2 separate regions of the Homo sapiens genome follow, and region 2 is linked to region 1. The links are contacts of gene promoters, found by promoter capture Hi-C in blood cells and fetal thymus (Javierre and others, 2016). All regions are on one chromosome and are shown on one strand. The core of a region is centred on a gene start or on the middle of the fragment in contact, and the rest is flanking DNA. Distances in the headings are between cores, read along the strand shown.

What was found. Contacts are between HindIII fragments. The CHiCAGO score rates a contact against its expected background, and 5 or more counts as called.
Region 2: a fragment that was not itself captured here is called in contact with the fragment with the promoter of MIR124-2HG in region 1 in 1 of 17 cell types (M1 macrophages); the score reaches 7.6 in M1 macrophages.

Annotation. Positions count from the first base shown.
Region 1 is chr8:64,370,156-64,377,630 of GRCh38, reverse strand. MIR124-2HG (MIR124-2 host gene) reads right to left here and starts at 4,303. Exons shown (of 3, transcript NR_109792.1): 1 at 4,080-4,303. RefSeq lists enhancers at 488-1,065, 4,285-4,825, 5,975-6,499, 6,500-7,026, 7,027-7,475. The HindIII fragment of the contact is 383 bases long and covers 3,958-4,340 here.
Region 2 is chr8:63,593,145-63,600,619 of GRCh38, reverse strand. No RefSeq gene overlaps it. Among named protein-coding and RNA genes, the nearest start is that of LINC01289, 170 kb to the left of the region's middle. The HindIII fragment of the contact is 6,207 bases long and covers 1,230-7,436 here.

The DNA.
Region 1 (7,475 bases), core at 3,054-5,553:
ACCCGCACTCTCGAATCTCCACCCCTCTTCGTTTAGGACCCTGCAAACTGCAAGACCGGCAAGAGAATCGAAACGATCGATGAGAGAAAGAATTACATATACCCATAGCCCTAGAAATCCGGAGAGAGACCTGCTAGCCCTGTTCAAACCTGCAGAGGACCAAAACGTTTTCAATCGCTGCTCAGCGCGTTCGCAGAGGAAAGAAGAGGCTGAGAGCCTTCCGTGGTATAAGGTGCTTTAAGGTGGGAGGTGGGGGTAGGGAGGGGGTGGGTCGGAGCGGTCCGGTCTTTCCCCCTCGCTTGCTGATCCAGAATTAGGGATTAATGGCTCGCTCCAGCCAAACAAATAAGGCATCTGCCTTCAGCACAAGAGGATTACACGGGCTGCTGACGTCACCAGTCAGACAGATGTTGGCTCCCAAAGTCCTGAGCAGCTCGCTGTGTCCTTGAAACCAAAGAGCCGCAGAAGGCTCGCAGCCCCCAGTTGCAGAGCCTAGGTACAGCAGAGGGCAAGAGCCCTGCCCTTGCCGACAACCTCTTGGCGTCAACCCAGTGCCCGCAGGCAGCTCCCTAAGACGTCGAGCTTCCAGCCTCTCCAAGCGCTCCCTTCGCCGTCCTGCTGTCAAAACCCAGGCTCTCTCAAAACAAGCCAAAGTCACCGTTCTCAGTTGCCTCTCCCTAACATGGAGACAAACGCCCACAACCCAGTCGACACCTTATCTAGATCCCACATTTAAGCTCTCGGGCTCCTGTTCACTCACACTCGGTTGGCCAAGTAACAGGAAAATAAGCACCTTAGGCCGGACACAGCCCACGCTCCAGCTGAGGGACCGCCTCTTAATTATGTGCGCAAGCAGCAAAAGCAGAGCTAATCTGCATCTCCTCTTCTCAACCCCGCAGCCTGCCTTCCCCCGAGGCCAAGGTTTAGGTTTATGTTTAATCTTATCACGAATGCCATTCCGGACGAATGTGCCTTTCAAAACAATGACGCTTTGCCAACCTAACTCAGCGTCCCAACCAGAGCCCTGGACCACCACTCGGTGAACCACGGGGACCTCACCATGGTCCTGATTAGGACACGGAAAAAATGTCATTGCATATTCTTCTCAAGTACTTTGAATACGTTGTCTAAAACTAAAATATTAAAATAAGTATGTGTGTTCAAAATATATGTAGCATCTAATTCCAGCAACCTGCACATTCAAAGAACTGCAGTTTCATTTTATAGCCAAATCTGATGAATAAAGATCAAAAATTAATTTATTTATAAACTCCAAGGTCCTTTTAAATGATGTAATTTTAACTTAATTTTAATTATGAACTATTTTAATTCTTCTAACCTGCATATTGTTTTTGCTTTATATGATTTTCCAGGCCTTTACAGGTCACACTAAAGTCAGGTTATGAAATAAGCTAAAAGACACATCAAACTGGAAATTTAAATGAGCAATTTTGAATAAGTTATGTAATCCACAAATGAAATGGTTTTAAATGAATTTTAATTCTGTAAAGGAGTAAAGACTATTCAAACAATGTATAAAACAAAATAAGCTGATCTCCAGCACAGACCCACACTGAACCAATCCTGTGTCCCAAATCTAATCAGTATATATGAAAAAATCTGTGACTTTCTTGGAAAAAAAATAAATGCTTGCTCACAACATTGCACTGTCAGTTATAGAGTACAATGCCTACACGGGAGTAGAAGGAATAGCCGGATTATATCTCCATTCATATTATTCCTGTCTATCAAAGTGGCATTTAATTTTCCCAATTTTATGCATTTAGAAATTCATTCACTGATAAAAATCAATTTAATTTTCTGTAGTGTCATTCAGCCAATGCCAGTCTAAAATAGTAAAATTTCTCCATCCCCATTCTGTTTCAAGGCCTTATAAAAAACGTTCTACATCTAAAACTGATAGTTTTAAATTTTATATTTACCAGTACCAAAAGGTGGGCTTTATCTTATTTTAATTGGATAAGTAATATATACTATTTGAGGCAGGGTAAAAACTGAACACATAATCATTGTTTCTTTGAAACTTGGTAGAATAAGTTTGAAATGCCACATTTTACCAGTCTAATTCCTTTTAAAGACCATAAAGATTATTTTTGACTTCTAACATGCTTTGAATGTAAACTTTCACTCAGGTCTCAAAATTTTATTAGAGTCCTTTTTTGCTCAGTGATTTAATATTAGTTCGCTGTCCATGGTCTTGATCCACATGAAAGGACATGCTAGTGTTACCTTTTGAAAAATGAAAGTCACAATGCTTCTGCACAAATTAGACTCCCTAGCATTTAAAATGATAGCAAAAGGGGGAAATGCTATAGGCTTTAGGTTCTCTTCCTCATCCCAGTTGTTCTCATTTTTCTATATTTGCCACCAAATTGAATGTACAGGAAGCAGATAGTTTGCATTTCATTATTTTTGAGCTCACAAAACCACCACTCCATTTAAAGATCCAAATAATTGTAGTAAACAGGAAATAATATCTTTCAACCTGCAATACTTTTTTGGCGGTTTTCAAAAGAGACATAGACATTGTTGTACAGGAATCCTTGTCCACTTTTACATATGGTTTAACAAGTGCAGAAAAATTACAAAAATGACAAATTCAGGGGCAAAAGCTAAACAACCTTTTCAATCATCTCTCTCTCCATATTTACATCACTATATAGAGGCATATAGATAGCACACACACACACACACACACACACGCTAAGAGCATTAAACTAAATCCATCTCTAACACCTTACACTTTTTTTGTAGCAAAGCATATGTTCCAGTGGCTAAGATGCGGAATAATTCTTCTAGCCAAAATAGCATTTCATCTTCAGTTTAAAAAATAAGAGACTGACCCGGCAGAGTAACATTTAACATCTCCTGGGGTTTCCTCGAGCGTGAGAAAGGAGAAAGGGAAAGAAATATTCCCTCTTTCAAAAACGTAATTGTCCTTCGTTTTTTATTTTCTCCTTCACATTGTCAGGAAAAATATGTTTTTTATATATATGTATATATGCATATATAAATAGACACTTATTTTTCCAAACCCCAAGAGCCGCTGTTGATCTTTGGAGGACACCGATCCGCACAAACCGGTCATATCTGTGCTTTGATACAAGTACCCCAACGGTAAGAAAACAGGCCCTTGGTTTTAAACTGAGGTCAGCACCCACGCCAGGCCATGGGGCCGAGCCTCAGCGATTCACACTTTCTTGGGCACGAGAAGGCTACTTTCTCAAGAAGTATTTCGAACTTGGGAAAATCCTAGTACCGGAAGAAAATGGCCTAAACACAATAGGACTCGCCATTTTCTCCTTGTGAAGCACAAAGCGCTTGGCGCTGCCCGCCACACAAAGAAAGCCTGGGCCCGCGGAATTCTTGCACATTTTCAAGAGGCCAAAAAATACCTTCTCAGAACCACAATTTCTCCCTCCTGGGCGCCGTGAGACACACCCTCTCTCCCACCCTCATTCAGTCCTCGTCCCAAGAAGATCCCATATTTGAGATGGAGATAAAAGACGCACCGAAGGCGCGATGCTGGCGTGCGAGCCAACCCCGGCAAGAATAAGTCCTGAAAACCAAGGGGCCCGGCCCGCGGCTGGCCGGGGCTCCATTCTAGGCCCGGGGTGGGGGAACACGGATCCCCTCCCTCCTCTTCAGATCCCTCCTTCCAATTCCATTCTGTCTCCCAAGCGTGTCTGAGAGCCTGGCAAGCTTAGGGATCTCTGTGACCTGATTTCCATCCATTGCCAGGAACCAACCTTACAGCCCGGAGCTGAGCCGGCGGCTCTCAAGCATGCTCGCGACGCGGGAACTCCTCGACTCCGCGCCTCCCGCCGCCCCCCGCCCGCCACCCCAAGTCACCGCATCAAAGTCAACCAGGATCGTGTTCTGCACGCCCACAACCGGCGAAACGCTTCTCCCGCTCACGTGCGAAAAGTGTAAGCTTCGAAGAAGCCCCTGTGAACCAAAACACCAAAACACAAGCAACAACCCGATTCACAAAGCGAACACTCCCAGCCCAGCCGGGGACGCAGAGCCCGGCTACCGCAGGAAAGGATGGTACTTACAGCCGGCGTGCGCTCGGGTAATCCGCGTCGCAGTCCGTGCGGTGGTTAGTTGGCTTTTAAAAAAATCACTACACACCTCTACATCTTTGATTTTACACATCTTCCACCGGTGAGAAGGAACGAAAACAAGAATCTTGTAGCCTAGTAGAATGGGGGAGGGGGATGAAGATTTTCATTGTCTACGCTCGGCACACGCAGCCCAAGGAAAGACGCTCACTGCCTTTGGAGCTCCTTCTACTTTCTGCTTGAAATTCAGAAGCTTTCAACGCAGTAAAGCGGGGGTTTGGTCTCCCTCCCTGCCTCCCTCCCTCTGCGTTCTCTCTCTCCTTTCTCTCTCTCTCTCTGTCATTTCCTTCTCCCTCCTCTCCTCTCCCCTCCCTCTCTCAAGCTCGAAGTCTCTCTCTCTCTTTCTCTCTCTCTCTCTCTCTCGCTTTTTTTCAAAAGAGGGCAGGTCGCTTCCTGCATCCCAATGAGTTAAATCAGTCACTTACTTCTCATGCATCAGCAGCCTCTTTAACAACCCGAGGGCTGCAGGCACAAAAGAGCATTTAGCTGCCTCCAATTTGTGTAGAAGGCCTGTCCTTAATTTGTTTTTGGAGTATAATTAAATCATGTATTTCACGTAATATAAAAATACCGAATTCTCAACTTTAGTGAATGAACTGCTAATGGTAACCTTTGAAAATAAATCCCTCTTGTTGATGTTCTTATCAAGGGCCTAGAACGCCCCAGAATTGCAGAGGCCTAAGGTCTGGGCCCCAAACTACCTGCCCCTCCCCCCTTTCACATGTCAAGGTCACAGTCATATGATTCCCCCATTGCTTTAAAATGGAGCCTTTTATCAACCCGTCGCCCTGGAAAGGAATTAAGTCTCTTTTATGGGGTGGGAAGATCTGAAGGATTAAATAAATAAATAAATAAATAAATACATCCTTAATCTGAAATACACACGTCAGCAGAATCAAGCCTGATCAGACATTGGGATGGTGGCGTGGGGGGACTGACAGGGCATGTGAGAGTGAGTGGTTTTCCTCTCCCCGCTTATCCCCCTGGCGAATTTTGAGGTCGCTGGGTTTTGCTTGGGTTTCTTCCAGCGACTGCGTGGGACTTCTGGGAGGACAGGGCGGCGCCTTTTTAGCTCCCAGAGTATCTGAGGGGTTCTGATCTCCCGGACACCGCCCAGTGGTCAGGGGGATCCTGTGTATGACTCCCCCTCCTCTAAAGGGGCTGGGGTACAAAGAGCAACTCTGCCTTCCTGCAGTTTCTCTTTCAGGAAGAACTCCAGGCCTGGCCATTGTTCCTCCTCAATGAAGGGGGCTGAGGGTGACAACAGAGAGAGACCTTCTCTTCTCTACACTCACCACCCACCTCCTCCCTCACTCCACCCAAGGCCACTGCTAGGGAGAAATTTGGGAATATTTTCTTGTTCCGGAGAGACGCTTGTCTGGAAGATCATGAGATGTAATATCATGAATATCTCGGTTATCTTTGTATTTTCTTCAGTAAGATTCCGTTAAGTCGTCAGTGGGCTCCCTCACCCCCTCCCATTTTCCAGTTCTAACAGAGCTTGTTCAGAAACATTGCACTCCGATGCGAGAGAGGTTAGGACCGCAGATAACCGCATTTAGTTCCATCGAAAGGGAATGTAACAATATAACTCACCACTTCCCGCCTCTGAATATTCGCTCTTCTACCCTAAATCACCCTGGGGTTTTGAGTAAGGCCACATTTCACCTTGAGCATTTATCAAACCGTACTTGGCTGCTGCTGCTACTGCAGGAGGACTCACAGGCCGCCAACACCCACCTGACATCTGCTTGAAATATCCAACAATATCTCCAACCGGGTCGTTTGCAAAAAGCAGCAAACCAAAAATGAAAGAAGAATTTTAAAAAATACAGAAAGAATATAAGTGTGTGTATAATATAATCCCAAGGTGCTGGATTTGGGGGCTCGAATTACCTAAGACAAAACATCTCTGCAGTTGAGACCAGACCAAAGGCCTCACCACAAGGGTGTTTTATTAGCGGCGAGAGACCACGGTTTTTTGGAGGCACTACAAGAAATGCGCATCACCCCGCTGCCCTTTATCTCTCATCCATGATTCTCATTCTATCCGTTTCCAGTTTATTGACCTGGGATGCGGGACTGCTAAAGATCGTCAACGACTTGCTGAGCCTGGGGGAGGCAAAGTCACGCTGTGCGCACTGGGGCCCGCCGCTGGGAAGGTGCGGCTCTCTGCTCTGGTTAGCAGCAGAATCTGCTCTGTGGGGTGACGACTTTAGACCACCCCGGGTGGGCACTTTACCCAGCATCCTCCCCTCTCCCCCGACTCTGGCAATGCTAGCTTTGCCTCATCTTCCAGGGCCTTGGAATTTCAGCCTTGTTGGTGGGGAGGCCTTAGGAAAGAACCCAAGCGGTGGGCGCGTTTCCCACGAATGGGCCGCTCCCTCGCCGGCGGCTTATTCCGAGTGGAGGCCTCAAAGGAAAACGTGAGAGAGATCACAGGCAAGCACCCCACCATTAGTCCAAGACTTTCACCCCACCCCCACCCCATACAGATGGCTGGGCCGGGACACCTGCACGGCAGCCACAGTCTCCGCCTCCGTGCAGCTCTCGGGATGGGGATCACAGAATCGGGTCCAATAAGGTCATCAGCCACCCTGGGCCCAAATCGATCAACTCCACCCCACCTCACCCCATCCCCAGCCTTAAGAACCTTTTTCCGGACACTTTTCGCTTTCGATCCCCGCCTGGCGCCCTATGCCTAGGAAAGTGAGCGGGTGATTCCTTTCTAGCGCCAGGTTTCGGGTTTGCCCTGCTCTCAAACCTCCTCCTGCCCTGCGCACCTCGTCGCTCAGGCCTGGAACTTATGAAAATGTAACCCAACTCGTTGCCAGAAGTTGTTGCTAATTAGTGGATAATAAACTTCTGTAGCCAGGGCACAAAAGTCTTTTAAAAGTGCAAAGGTGTTCTTTGTTGTGGCATCAGAAAAGAGATTAGCATATCAATTGGACTGGGGGGACCGGACAATGAGTCCTCCTCCCCCTGAGCTGCCCTCAGTTCGCCGCCCGCCGCCGCCTCCTCCTCTTTGTGTCCTTCCTCCTCTTCTTCTTCTCGCTGCTCCGAGAGCTGTCAAGGCTTGGTCGGGGAGCTCTGGGCGGCAGGCTGGGACCGGGCAGGCAGGCGCAGTGCACGCTTCACGCCGCCCACCAGGCTCCGCGGCCTGCGTGGCGCCCACGCCCTCGCCCCTCGCCCCTCGCCCCACGCCCCTCGCTGGGGGCTCAGCCTAGCTCCGCGCCCAGGCGTGCACCTGGAGAAGGTGGAGGCGCGTAGGGACGCCTAGCCAAAGCGCAGCGGGTCTGGGAGGCCACAAGGGCGTGGACGAGGCCTGCC
Region 2 (7,475 bases), core at 3,084-5,583, 780 kb after region 1:
ACTTGGATGTCATTGGCGATCTAGGCCTTGCATTCTGAACTGGTGGACCTTCTAGATTAGTCCTCTAGAATGAGTCTCTGGATGTTCTGCATAGGGTGTTTTACTGATTGGGTTTCTTTGGTTGACTTTTAGCATAAGAATCAAATGGAGATAACTTTCTATAATCTTTGCACCTGAATGTCCTCATTTCATAAAACAATATCACCTTTAGGAGATTGAATGGTAAAAGAATGTCTCTTTGGTGTTACATATTTACGTTTATGTGTAAGAAAGCATCGCATGCTAGAAATAATTTGCCTCCCACCACTCCACACTCCTGATTCTAAAAAGTAAAGCATGCTTATCAACTAAAATGAGTCACCTGTGCTTCTAAAGAAGGTTGTTGCCAGGTATATGCACCTAGTGTTCTCATTAAAATGTTTTGAGAATAAGAGCTCAGCTGTCTGTAGTGTCAGAGCATCTGATATTAATTTCTACCTGTCTTTGCACCAAACGACAAATGTGAACACTTGGACCAGCTATATTATTAATAGAATTCTGCAAATATTCATTTTAACTTATTTTATTAATGGAAAAAGAAAAATATTTTCATACATTCCAGTATTTTCTAAAATTAATTTCAGAATTGTAATAATTGCCTAGTTCTCTTTCAGTGAAAATATTTAATAAAATCACTTGAGGAAATAATCAAAAGCATCAACAAGATGTATAATACTGTGAGTTTTCAACAGGCTGAATTTCAGCCAATTAGATGCAATTTGATAAATTTGATAAAATTAGATAAAAAGAGAGAAAAAACTCTTCTGAAAATTGTGTTAAAAACATAACCTTAGAGATTCCTTTATCTAGAAAAAAAGATTTTTTTATGCTGTTGAGAGAGTAAAAAGGCATTCAATATGAAAACCTAACTTTAATTGGCAACCAGATAAATCTCTAAAAATGAATAAAAGGCATGTCCCAGTGTTATCTAAGTTTGTTTAAGAACATTACTATTTAAACTTCTTCCTTATCTTTGTGAGCTCTAAATTAAAACAAAGCAACAATATTTCAGGAACCATGCCCCTCACTAAGATTCACTGATGGAAGAACTCTGCAAAGAGCTATAGGTGTTCCCCCTCCACTGGTGATAGATGATGGGTTCCTGATGCCAGCTCTTCATGGGTTATATTAATAGTCCTTGGTGCCTGGATTAATGTTCATTTGAAGCACAACCATGTAGGCACTAAGCTTTTATCCAGCATCCTTACATTCCATAATTCTCTAAGTCATGGAAAGAACAAATATATCTTTGTCTAGTAAGCTATCAGGAGAATTCTCTCTCTATATATGTGAGGCCAGGGGTTTAAATGAGGGTAGAATACACCAGAGCCAATCTTCCTGCCTCTAAACTCTCTCTCCCAGCCATTCTGGTATTTTGTCAAGTTGACTCAAGTTTATTCTTCAGTTTACTCCTCTCTTTAAAATTCTCGGTGACTCAAGGTCAAGGACATAATCCTTGACTTGGTATATAAGATCAGACAAAATGCCAGGTAAAGTGCAAGATGGCCAGATAAATTTGAATTTCAGATAAAAGACAATTTTATTTAGTGTAAGTGTGACCCATGCAGCATTTGGGAACATAGACTAAAATATTATTTGTTGTTCATCTGAAATTTACGTTTAACTGAGCATCTGAATTTTTAGTTGATAACTCTGACACAGACTCCCAGTCCCAACATCTCTTGTCAGCTTCCTCTCCCACTGTTGCAGAACAAACCCTCTGCTCTAGCCACAACTGCGGCCTCCAAGTTCCTCACACTCCTGCACTTTCGTGACTCCACAGTGTTATTTCAGTGTTCTTCTGTCCAGGAGGTCCTCCTTTCTTCGTTCTATTAAAACTCTACTCGGGAGGCCAAGGCGGGCAGATCACGAGATCAGGAGATCGAGACCATCCTGGCTAACATGGTGAAACCCCGTCTCTACTAAAAATACAAAAAATTAGCCGGGCATGGTGGCGGGCGCCTGTAGTCCCAGCTACTCGGGAGGCTGAGGCAGGAGAATGGCGTGAACCCAGGGGGCGGAGCTTGCAGTGAGCCGAGATCGTGCCACTGCACTCCAGCCTGGGCGACAGAGCGAGATTCTGTCTCAAAAAAAAAAAAAAAACAACAGCTCTGCTCATCTTGAAGATTGAATTCAAACTGCATCATTTCTATTTTTTTTTTAATCATTCCATAGTCAATTCCTATAACACATTGTTTTTCACATAAATACAATTGTTTCCTGCCTTCTGGCTTATCACCCATAGTTAGTCTTCAAATTTTGTTTAAATCCTGGAGTAGGTTTTACCTTTTCTCATACTTAGGTCTCACATCCCCATATAGTCTATAAGCCCCATGTGGTAGGGTTGCTATTTATCTTGTACGCTTGCAAACTGACCACAGAAAGCAGAGTATAGTTTCAGAAAGAGAAGCAGAGGCGAAAACTGATGTTAGGAAAGGCCTACAATATGCTGGAAGTTTTACATGGTATTTTTTTCATCCTTATAGCAAACTAACAATATCTTCACTTTACAGCTGAAGAAAACATAGCTCAGAAAAGTTAAGCAACTCACCTAAGATAACGGTAACAGAGGCAGAATTTGAACCCAGGTCTGACTTGAGTAAACACCATGCCACCCTCTCCATTAATGCCATTGTCAGCTATTGCTGCAGCAGTCACCATTAAGTTTTTAATGTTGGTGTGAAGTCTCAGGAAATGAAAAATCTAGGCCAGGCAGCTGAGGTCAAGTAGGCAACTAAGGAAGTTTGTAGGAAGCACGATTGCAGCTGGGGCATACTCTGCCACCTTGGGAAAAGCAAGAACAGCTGGGGCAGCAGAAGAGACAAACCCACTGCATGGGGTGAAGAAAATTAACTGGAGTAGGAATGGAGCTGACTCCACATTTCCTGATAACTGAATGTTTGCAAGCAAACAGCAGTATAGAGCCAGCCCAGGCAGAGAGGCTGGCCCCACGCTTTCCCTGTGGTCTGAGGCAATCAGGGTCTTGCTGCAGAACATGGTTGCTTGGAGAAAGGAGGAAAGGAGAAAAGCAGCAAGCAAAAGCTGAAAGTTGAATTCCCAGCAGAAGCTAGGCATTTATGTGCAGTAATTGCCGGTAGGTCAGCAGATTCTTAAACAGCATGAAGGCTCCCAAAAGGTCAGTGAACATTTTAAAAATTTCAGTGCACATTTGTGCACCACTGCATGCTTTGCTGTTTTCCAGCTCCAAGCTCCACAAGGAATAAATGTGGTTATTTTAAGGTCTGGAAGCCTCATCCTACCCTATGGAAAATACCATCTACTAGAGAAACACACTTTCTTTCACCTTTCTAGTCTTTTGGAAGACTTCTCTAGTGATAAATTTTATTTATGCCTCCCTACTGTTCAGAGACCTCTGCAGTCAGCAGGGGTGAGATAGCATAGAGGAGCTGGATTTTCTCCCTCTCACATTTGTGGGTTTATGGCATGAAGGCCTATTATTTTAACATATTCTGTGTAAAGTGTGAAACACTTGGAAGAGAAAACATTCCAGAGAACATTTCACCTGCCCATTTAATAGCATCAGTAGCTAAGACTAAAAGCAAACTGTGGTCGTCAGGATAAGCAATGATCCCCCCCAGTGCCAAAGATATTATAAACTCAGGATCAATAGAAATTACAAAGCAGTGTTGCTTTTATTTTTAGCTTTAACCTTCGAGAAAATCAAGGCTTCAGAATATTGAATTGGATCAGCACATCAGTGATTGCAGACACAGATACAATTAGGGAATCTGGATGCAGCCAAACAATTATAAATCTTCTTAGTAAAGTGCCTTGGTTTCCTCTCCACTGTGGATATTCCCACAAATAAAGCATCCCATTGTACAGAGCTTCTTTTGTTTTAATGTATATCAAAGTGCATTTCCAGCTCACGGTTACAGAATACTCTATTTTACATATAAAAAAATTAAAATCAAGCAGTTTATAAACCCTAGATGCTGATTGACATATTAGTTGTTTAGCCAAGGTGAGTGGCTAAAATGGAATTAAATGCATGAGATATTACTCATGTCACAAGATGTAAAATGTGTAAAATTTCAGCTAACTAAAATACCCTCTACAATCAACAAATGCTTGGTGCATTAGGGACCCCTGTTCAGCCATAAGGCTGCAATATCCCTTCTAAGGACCATTTGCTTTCTGAAGCACCTGCCATCTGTACTCTATGATCTTGAATCCTTTCCTTCTGAGGTTGCTTTTCTGCTTACTTGTCATTATTTCCAATAGCCCAAAAATTAAAACTTGAAGGATGGATATAGGATATTTTGGAGGCAGGACAAAAGTGAATAGCGTGATAGGAAGCCAAGCTCCTTGGATAAAGACCCAGCTTATTATCTATTTTAGAAGCAAGACAAATGCTTCAGACATTTCAAGGGCACACAGATATACTGAAATATGGAATCTTGCTAATAAATGAAAGCAGCTGAATGACCATGCTGGCTGGCAAGCAACCACCAGAGGTAAAGTGATTTTCTTTGAGCTAAATTGTGAGTCAGGTGCTCTTGCTCTCTGTCAGCTTACACACAGACACAGACACACACACACAGAGATGCACAATACACAGACACACACAAACACACAGACCACACAAATGTGCACTCTTGGAGTACGCACACTAAGATCAGATCAAATAATCTAAGTTAGAAGAAATTCATTCTTTTGCTTCTTATAAGTAAATATATGGTTGTGAATTATAAATATTATAAAACGTTACATCTGTGGGACTCAGGGGAAAGAAGGCCCACAGAAGACCATACTTACTTAATATGCCATCTTCATACGCATGAAGAGGTAAAAGTAGGGCCTTTAAGTGAAGATGAAAGGCAGCAGTATTGTTTATCCTACAGAAGAGCAGGTTAAGAGGTGATCTGATTACCAGTTTCAAGTACACAGAGGGCATTTTTATGAAGGTGATGGTGATTGGTTGCTCTCCATATTGGCAGAGGACCTGACAGGAAGAAATGAGCCTAAAGATAGAGTTCAGTTAAACATAAAGATAAATGTATTCAACTTCAAGTTGATAAAACACAAAAATGGCTGGCAGAGAGTGTGAAGAGTTCATTCCTGGAGCTCTTTAGAAGAAAATAAGTAGTTATTTTCCTGGTGTCTAAAATGAGATGCCTGCTTAAAAGAACCTGCCCAATGACCACTTACTTGTTTTAGGTTGATGGATAGAAAATGAGAATGGAATGTGGAAATGAAATGCTATGCAAATTATATTATAATGCCTCCAGTATTTATGATGTAGTTGGTACTCATTTACAAAACAATTCCTAGGAGTGTCAACACTGAACTCAATTTTGTTCCTTGCCCTATCAGCTGCATTTGACGCAGCTTATCACCCCTCCTACTTGAAATTTACCCTTCACTGGACTGCTGGGATGCCACTTCTGTGGTTCTCATTTTACTGCATAGGCACTCCTTTTCTATCACCTCAGCGTCTAAATGTTGACATACTCAGGCTCAGGCTCAGTCCTTAGACCTCTCCTCTTCTCTGGCTTTAATCACTTAATAGATGATTTCATCTAGTCTTGTAATTTCCAATTTCACATTTCACTTACATTTTGAAGATTCTGAAGTTTATATCTCCATCCCGGACTTCTTCCCTGAACAACAAACTCCTTTATCCAACTATCTATTCTATATGTCCTATTGGATCTCTAATAGAAAGAGGGATAATAAAATTAAGCTCCCAATTTTCTTCCACCCACATCACCAAAGTTGTCCCTGTCATCATCTTTGCCATATCTCTAAATGGCAACTCCCTTTTTCCAGTTGCTCAGGCCCAAGATTTTGGAGTCATTCTTAAAAACACTCTTGCTTCCCACTCCACATTCAATCCATAGCAAATTCTGTCAGTTTTACTCTCAAAATATATGCATAATTTAACCCTGTCCACTGCTACCACCCTGACTCCATCATTTCTTTCTTCCATTATTACAGTCTTCAATCATCTCTCCGCTTCCACCCTTGCCATCCTATGTAGTACAAGGTGATATTTTTAAAATATAATAGTTCAAGGTTGACATCAGAAAATGGTGGAATCATTTTCTACCATCATCTCCCCACAGTGCACTTACATTGATAGGCAGAAGTCCAGTGGAGAAGTACAAGCACACCATTGGAGCAAAAAATAACAAAACACACATATTGAAGTGGATAAGAAAAACAGTTTCATTTTACTCATTACCCCACCCCAAGGGGACATAGTTCAATGCCAAGAAAGACCCTCAAGTCCTTGGCCCACGAGTCCTTCCACAGAGGAAAGTGAGTGCAGTGAGTCCTGCCTTCCCCAGCCATGCAAGATGCTGCCAAAGAAGCCTACCTCTTTCTGGTCCTACCAATAGGACTAAGGGTGTTAACACAGCTGAATGGCTAGGAGAAGCTGAGAGCAGAAAACAGAGGCAAGGACTCACAGCAATTAGGTCTCAAAACTCAACAAAAGTCTGTGTATCCTACTAAATGCTTGACAGACTCAAGCAAGAGGACTCTCTGCAAGGGGCTTGAAATTCCTCACCTACAGACTCTCCTATCAACTGACACACAGGTGACTCCAATGCTTCATATATCTCCCCTTCCATCTCTCCTATATGACTAGCTCCCTTCATGTGCCCCCCAGATATCAAGTGTGAGCATTTGCAGGTGGCTCACAAGCACCTGTGGTCCTCAAGCTCAACTCCACAGAATTAGAAGGCACACAAACTTGAGCATGTCAGGTCACCCCCAACTCCATCCCACCAGGGAAAACAAACAGGAGACTGATCATCCAGCTAGGCCTTGTAGGATTGAGAGAATCTAAAGAGTTCTCCTCCAAGAGGAAACAAGAAGTGTGGAGTGGGTATATCCATAGAAAAGGTCTGAGAGGGCCTCGGAATCTCTAGTCTGGCTGACAGGTGAAGGTAGTTCTTTCCCCAAATCAGTCAGTGAAAATTGAAGGTTATTGCTTCTCCAAATCTAAAGACAGCAATGTAAGACTTCAAAAAACATTAAAAATCAAGGAAACATGTTTCCATGACACCACCAAAGGAAAACAATAATTTTCCAGTAACTGACCCAACAGAAATGGAGATCTATGAATTGCTTGACAGTGAATTCAAATTAATTGTTTTAAGGAAGTTCAGTGAGCTACAAGAGAACAAAAATAGACAATTCAACAAAATCAGAAAAATAATACATGAACAAAATTAGAAGTTAAACAAAGATAGAAATCATTTAAATAAAACAGAAATTCTGGAGCTGAAAAAAACGTAATGAAATGAAAAATGCAATAAGAAGTTTCAGATTTCATCAAGGAGAATGCAATCTATGAACTCAAAGATAGATTACTTGAAACTATTCAGTCAGAGGAGAAAAAATAATGATAAGGAATAAAGAAAGCTTACAGAATTTATAGGACATCATGGAGGTAAATACAATAA